Linked DNA regions of Homo sapiens: region 2 is linked to region 1. The links are contacts of gene promoters, found by promoter capture Hi-C in blood cells and fetal thymus (Javierre and others, 2016). All regions are on one chromosome and are shown on one strand. Each heading gives the region's core, a stretch centred on a gene start or on the middle of the fragment in contact. The rest is flanking DNA. Distances are from core to core; before and after follow the strand shown. Region 1 holds the start of GTF3C2 (general transcription factor IIIC subunit 2). Region 2 holds the start of SELENOI (selenoprotein I).

The links. The method cuts DNA at HindIII sites, captures the fragments that hold promoters and counts their contacts. A CHiCAGO score of 5 or more calls a contact.
Region 2: the fragment with the promoter of SELENOI here is called in contact with the fragment with the promoter of GTF3C2 in region 1 in 1 of 17 cell types (non-activated CD4 T cells); the score reaches 6.8 in non-activated CD4 T cells.

What each region holds. Positions count from the first base shown.
Region 1 is chr2:27,354,899-27,358,494 of GRCh38, forward strand. It overlaps GTF3C2 (general transcription factor IIIC subunit 2), which reads right to left and starts at 1,866. Exons shown (of 19, transcript NM_001035521.3): 1 at 1,841-1,866. It overlaps GTF3C2-AS2 (GTF3C2 antisense RNA 2), which reads left to right and starts at 1,867. Exons shown (of 4, transcript NR_183827.1): 1 at 1,867-1,958; 2 at 2,910-3,004. RefSeq lists enhancers at 1,260-1,873, 1,387-1,666, 1,717-2,056, 1,874-2,487, 2,067-2,196. The HindIII fragment of the contact is 6,500 bases long and covers 1-3,596 here.
Region 2 is chr2:26,344,569-26,348,164 of GRCh38, forward strand. It overlaps SELENOI (selenoprotein I), which reads left to right and starts at 1,575. Exons shown (of 10, transcript NM_033505.4): 1 at 1,575-1,721. The coding sequence starts at 1,665. It overlaps ADGRF3 (adhesion G protein-coupled receptor F3), which reads right to left and starts at 2,221. Exons shown (of 14, transcript NM_001321971.2): 1 at 1,553-2,221. The coding sequence starts at 1,666. RefSeq lists enhancers at 1,040-1,179, 1,500-2,267, 2,380-2,479 and silencers at 1,390-1,619, 1,670-1,729, 1,790-1,839. The HindIII fragment of the contact is 12,799 bases long and covers 273-3,596 here.

The DNA of each region.
Region 1 (3,596 bases), core at 616-3,115:
CTGCAATAAATATTCTAGTACAAATCTCTTCATTAATTCATCAATAAATTATTTTTCTCGAATAATCATCTGAACATGGAATTACTGTACTACACTGAAGAACATGCACATTTCAAAATTTGATACTACCAAACGGCTCACCAAAATTAAAACTATTTATGTATATTAGTACCCATTTTATCATACCGTTACTGATCTTTTTAATTTTCGCCAATCTGATAGGTGAAAGAATTCTTCCCCACTCTATTTATTTGCACTGATAATAATTGGTGTCAGCAACTTCTTTCTATATATTGGACATCCATATGACTTTTATGAATTGCCTGTACATATAATTTGCCTGGCCGGGCACGGTGGCTCACGCCTGTAATCCCAGCACTTTAGGAGGCCGAGGTGGGCGGATAACGAGGTCACAAGTTCGAGACCAGCCTGACCAACATGGTAAAACCCCGTCTCTACTAAAAATACAAAAGTAGCCGGGCATGGTGGCACGCGCCTGTAATTCCAGCTACTCAGGAGGCTGAGGCAGGAGAATCGCTTGAACCCGGGAGGCGGAGGTTGCAGTGAGCCGAGATCACGCCACTGCACTCCAGCCTGGGCAACAAGAACAAAACTCCGTATCAAAAAAAAAAAAAATACACTTCTCATGGAAGGCAGCAGCAGGATGTAATGGTACAAATTCTGGATACACAGTAAAGGAATAGATGATCAGTAAATTCGTACTGAGTTTCTAAAACCTTCCATTGCACCCCAATCTGTCTGGTTCCCATGCTGCTCCAGGATGCCAGCTTGACCTCCCCAGCCAAGAAAAAATAATGACACAACACTGCACCTTAAGTATGAAATTACTTTGAATACACTGCTTAGCTTAATATATTGTTTCCTAAAGTGTTCCTAGGGTACAACTGGCGGTATGCAAGATGATTTTAATGGTACGAAAACGAACATTTTAATGACTAGTGCTTTTATTTCAACTTACATAAACAATTATAAGTAGCCCATGAAACCCACGGTTTCATTTATATTGCTTAGGTCGAGACTAATGCATTTAAACTTTTTAAGTAAGTCAATTTAAAGAGAACTATTCAGAAAACAATAGTACAATTGATAAGAGATTGCAAAAATAGTGATGGCACGGGATTGACTTAAAATTGTATATGCCTCTGGAACAAAGAGGTTTGTCCATACCCTATACATCCCTCCAACAAAGTGAGTTGCCTCCGACGGAGTTGAAGTCGCCACCTCTGACTTCCCCAACAGGCAGCCAACTTGCCACGGGACAAAAGGACTAGACAGGGAAACACAACTGGCCCTTGGTTACGCCAATGGCGTTGCAGCGCGCGGGGCACAACCCTCGGGGTTAAAGAGCCTCCTCGAGGAAGAGGCTGGGACACAGCTGAAAGAGATTGACCCACAACCACTCTAGGGGCCATCACCTGCCCTTCTTCAGTCCTGGGCGTGAAGGTAGATTTCTCCCCTAGCCTGTGCGGGAGAGGAGCCCTGGTTTTTCTAACAAGGACTACTGTAGGTTCGCCGAGTTCGAGGGACGCTACGTATGCAGCGCCTACGCCCGGACACAGGCTTCCGCGTTACCGACACCGCGTGGGGGAGGAGGGCAAGACCCGAGGCTTGCAGAGATGGGGGGTGCACGGTGGCCACAGTAGGGAAGGTGCGGAGCATGATGGTGCTCTGTAGGAGCGCAGACGCTGAAAGGCGCGCTGCTGTGGCTGGGAGAAGAGCGGAGCCAGGAGTTTGTTCCCAATATCTTAGTGCTATGGCAAAAGAAGGGGGAGGAGTAATTGTGGGGCCCCCCACACACCCGCTGCGGCGATACACTCACCCTCGCCAAAGTCCTTCCGGAAGTCTAAGTTCGAAGATGGCGCCGCCTGTCTGGTCGCGGTCTTATGACGAAATCTTGTTAGCTGCTCTTCACTGACGCCCCCACCCCAGTGCACAAGGTAAACACGTGTGCTTGGTCCGGAGTCGGTGCCGGGCTAGTTTTCTCTTAGACTCTGTATTCCATAATGCAGCGCGGCCAGAGTCACCGAGCCCTCCGAAGCCAGCCGAGTTCCAGGGCGTCTTCAGCGGCGCCAGGGACGCTGCAGGGCCTCATGGGAGTTGCAGTGTCAAAAAGGGGAGATCGACGCCTGCGCGGCCAACGGGATCCCACGCGGCCTCGACGGGAGCCGGGAGTAGGCGGACTCCCAGGCCGGGCTCGCGCTCTGGATCCCTGAATCCGGCCTTTCCGGCCGGACTGCCGCGCCTGTGGCCGGAAGAGCCAGCTAGACCAGAGAGTCTGTACCTGCAACCCTGGCGGCGTCCGAGCCCAAGGCGGAGTCTGGGAGACAAAGAAGTCCTCGCCGCCGGCCGCTGGAGGATTCTGCCAGTAGTGAAGTCAGGGATGGGCCCGAGAGAGCTTGGAAAGAGGACAAGGAAGGGAAGGAGTAGGAGTAGAAAAGCATGACTTTGGCTGGGTATGGTAGCTCCTGTCTGTAATCCCAGCACTTTGGGAGGCCAAGGCGGGGGAGGATCACTTGAGCCCAGGAATTCGATACCAGCCTGGGCAACATAGTGAGACCCCGTTTTTATTTTTATTTTTATTTTTTCCTGAGATGGAGTCTTGCTCTGTCCCCAGGCTGGAGTGCAGTGGCGCGATCTCGGCTCACTGCAAACTCCGCCTCCCGGGTTCAAGCAATTGTCCTGCCTCAGCCTCCCGAGTAGCTGAGATTACAGGCGCCCGCCACCAAGCCCGGATAATTTTTGTCTTTTTAGTAGAGAAGGGGTTTCACTATGTTGGCCAGGCTGGTCTCGAACTCCTGACCTTGTGATACGCCTGCCTCAGCCTCCCAAAGTGCTGGGATTACAGGCATGAGCCACCGCGCCCGGCCTAATTTTTTAATTTTTTCTAGAGATGGGGTCTCGTTATGTTGACCAGGCTGGTCTTGAACACCTGACCTGAAGTGATCCTCTTGCCTCAGCCTCCCATAGTGCTGCGATCACAGGTGTAAGTCACTGAGTTTGGCCATTATTCCATTTCTGTACACAAAAACCTTTCTCATTCTGTGCTATAACTAGTTAGCATTTAATTGGGTGGATGTGGTATAACTAGTGCCTTGTTGATATTGATGCATATTTACATGGTTTTGCTGTTATAAACAATGGTCCCTTGCTATTATAAATCACACTGCTATAAGTAACCTTGCATCTAAATTACTTCAAATGTGTAACTATATGGGTAGGATAATTTCTAGAAGTGGAATTGTGAACCAAAGTTTTAGGTGCATTTGTAATTTTGATTTATAACCAATCTTTTCACTGATCTACTTCTCTGCCTCTAATTTCTACTAGGTGTTTGTTTGTTTGTTTGTTTGTTTTGAGACAGGGTCTTGCTCTGTCACCCAGGCTGGAGGACAGTGGTGCAATCACGGCTCACTGCAGCCTCAACCTGCCACCTCAGCCTCCTGAATAGTTGGGGTGTGTGGCAGGTGTATACCACCACTTCCAGGTTTTTTTGTTGTTGTTGTTTAATAGAGATGAGGTCTTGCTATATTGCCCAGGCAGGTCTCACACTACTGAGCGCAAGCGATCCTCCTGCC
Region 2 (3,596 bases), core at 325-2,824, 1.0 Mb before region 1:
CATGGGGAAAATTAAGATGTATAAGATGCAAATACTGCCCTCGAGGGCAAGTGTGATAAAGGACACTGAAGTTTATTGGTTGGCGGGCGCCCATTCTTCAAAAAATGCAAAAAATTTAGCCGGGTGTGGTGGTGTGCGCCTGTAGTTCTAGCTACTTGGGAGACGGAAGCAAGATCACCTGAGCCAGGGGAGGTCGAGGCTGCAGTGAGCCGTGATCACGTCACTGCATTCCAGCCTGGGTGAGTCAGTCCCTGTCTCAGGGGGCGGGGAGAAGCTTATTATCTACCATATACCAGGTATAAGATTATCTATTACTTTCTAAGAATCATGCTTTAGGAGGGGAGATTAGACATGTAGTAATAATACTGTGTTTGGCATATCTCGGGTCCCCAATAAATAGTTGTTAAACGAATGAACATAAAAGTATCTCAAAATAATCGCCCTTATTTCAGAGACCCAGAGAGACTGAAAGGCTCCCTGAAGTAGTGGTTTCCCATAACACAGAACTCATTTCATGTTGGGTCGATCATTTCCGAGCTTCGTAACTAAGTGACTCTGGGCAGGCTGCCTAATCTGAAAAAGGGGATAATGCCTTTCACTTCAGTGTTGTTATGGGGTTGATAATGTATGTGAAGTTCTCCCCACAGAAGGCGCTCAATAAAAAGCAGCAACTATTATAAAATTTTATTAGTAGATACTCACTAGCCATTGATCTAGTGTTTTTTGTTTGTTTGTTTGTTTTACAATTAACTGGGCTCCAGTTATGTAAAACACCTCTTGCAAACGCATTTAAGGACTCGTCGAGACTGAGAGATCACTGCTTTTATCTGGTCGGGAGACACCAGCAATCTTAATTTGGAACGGTTTGATAGAGCGGAGTGCGATGAGGCGGTCCAAGGTTCCTAAGCAACATAGACCTGAGGGGCTTGTCTCCAATGTCCTTTCACCTGTCTTTCAAGTCCCTCTGCTGACCGCACAAAGACTCCCGTGGCCCCGGCAGCAGCTCGGCCTTCTCTACATCTAACCACGTTTACTAAATTTCTACGGCACGCAGCGCACCGCACCAGGAGCTGGGAGCGGCTCGCGGTACAGACCTCCTTCCTCTTTTACTTCGCTGCAGCGGGAGAACTAAGTCCTCTTACCTGAGGCACTGCTGAACTGGTTCGCAAGCAGTCACTCTACCCCCAAGACTAAAACGGTATACCCCAGATCACCACGCAAGTGCGGATACCACAGAAATCCCACCTTCCCCCGGGACCGGGAGCAAAGCCCGCTGGGAAATTGACCTTTCACCCCCTCTCTTGCCTTACCTCAGCTCACCAATTTTGACGCTAGCAAATGAAGCGACGAAGAGAGCTGGAAGGCGGGACTTAGTGTTGCCTGATCCACGCCGATTGGACAACAGCAGTGTCGGGGGACGGGCCGCTCGAGCGGGCTAGCAACCCCCCCTCGATGGGCGGGGAGAAGCGTGGGCTGCGCTTGCGCACTGAGAGGCGGCCGAAGGGGCCGAGGCGGCTACGCGTGCGCGGTGGGCGGAGCGCGGCTCTCCTACCTTCTCGGGCAGCCCAGTCTTTGCCATCCTTGCCCAGCCGGTGTGGTGCTTGTGTGTCACAGCCTTGTAGCCGGGAGTCGCTGCCGAGTGGGCGCTCAGTTTTCGGGTCGTCATGGCTGGCTACGAATACGTGAGCCCGGAGCAGCTGGCTGGCTTTGATAAGTACAAGGTACCGCGGGCCGGCGGATGCCCCTCTCCCTGCTCCCGGCCTCGCCCAGGCGGCTGAGGGGCCCGCGCGGCGCGGTCCGTGTCACCTTGTGCCGCGTGGCTCCGGGCGGGCTGGCGGGCGTTCCTCCGGAGGTCCTGCGGGTCCTGGGGATTGGGGGTCGGGGAGCGTGGGAGCATCCTAAGCCCGCCGCCCGTAGTCGGCACCCCCCGGGAGATTTCCTTTTCCTTAGGAGAGCGCTCAGTGATCATGGAGCGAGGGAATTCCCTTCCTATTTTTTTTAAACTTATTATTTTCGTAAGCCCCCGAAAGGATGGAGTTCCTTCTGTTGTGTCAATCGCCTTCATTTTAGTGAAGTTTCCACTCGCCTGTCATGCATACAACTTCGGAGGAGGAGATGATCGTTTGGCAGATGAGGCCCGGGAGGGGAGCGACTTGCCGATGCCATCCTGCTGATGTCTCCACTTCTGCTCCCGGCAGGGACTTCCTAAGCGGCAGCTTGTGGCGCTAGGGCCACCAGATGAAAGGGAGGTGCACAGGAAGGAGCTGTGGAGTGGAAAGAGCGCGGGCTTTCGAGCACATACAAACCTGATTACAAAAGTCAGATTTCTTTATTTCGTCTTGGGCACGTCATTTTAACCCCGCTCAGCCTCTCTTTTGTGTATGAAACTGAAAGTAATAGCTTCTGCTGTGCAAAATGATTAGAGGAATTTGTGAAGCGCTTGGCAACATACTAGGACCCCAGTAAATAAATGCGGGTGGTTAACTTTCCTCCAAATCTGGTTCCCATCCGCAGTTCCTTTACCAATGAATGACTCTAACCATCCAGTCGACCAAGCCTGAAATATGGGCTTTAACCCTTCATCCTTGTTGTTACCCGTTCATCTTCACATCTTAGCTTAAATATTGCTTCCTCAAAGAAGCCCTCCCTACGTGCCCCTTTCCCCCTTAAATGTGCGCTCTGTTCGTTTATGGAATTGCTGCTTTAGCGTGTCTCGCCATTAGAATATAATGCCCAACTCATTAGAGTTTTCTTGTGGACCATCATGGCTTAAGCACAGTGCTATGTGCATACTAGGCACCCAGTAAGCATTTGTGGAATGAATGAATAACTGAAAAAGTCATAATGGATTTTGTTTAACTCGAGTTAAAAAAAAAAAAAGCAAGGGTCCTTAGAAGGTCACATAGCATGTTTCTCTGCTTTCAAGCCGTATTGTGCCATACCATTCTGAACCGAGGTGATGACTTGTCTTAACATTTTAAGTGGAAAGAGGGTCCAGAGCCTTCTTGGTAACTCGGGCCAGTGCTTTTCAACTTTCATTTTAGAAGGCTGTTAACCCAGATACCTCCTGTTTTGCCTTAAGCTCTACTCCCCTTTTGTTGTCTGTTCTGCAGGGTAAATATTGACATATAAAACATTTTCTTCCTTACTAGGGTCTGACTTTCTAAGTGCCAATAAAATAGCTATTTCAATGGGAGCAGTGTTTATAATAGGAAATCTCCTTTTTCTTATAAAGAATCTTCCCTAGATTTATATTTTCAACTAAATAAGTGTCTTAATTTACTAGAAGTTTCGTGTAATTTTCTGTTCTGATCTTTCCCCCTTTTTTATTATATAAGTTCCTGTATCTGACAGCAGATGACTTCCTATCATCCTGGAAAACAAAGGTCGATTTAGCAAGCGTCCAATGTTCACTAAAATAGTTTGTTGATATCATTTTAGTTATAATGAGGCTTCCTTGGGGAAAAAAAAGCACACATTTATAACCTAAATATTCTTCTATTGCAATTACTCAATACTGCATTTATATTAAAATTATGAATCCAGTGGTATCCAAAGGAAAAATCCATGGGATCAGTTTTGCTTGAACACAAATC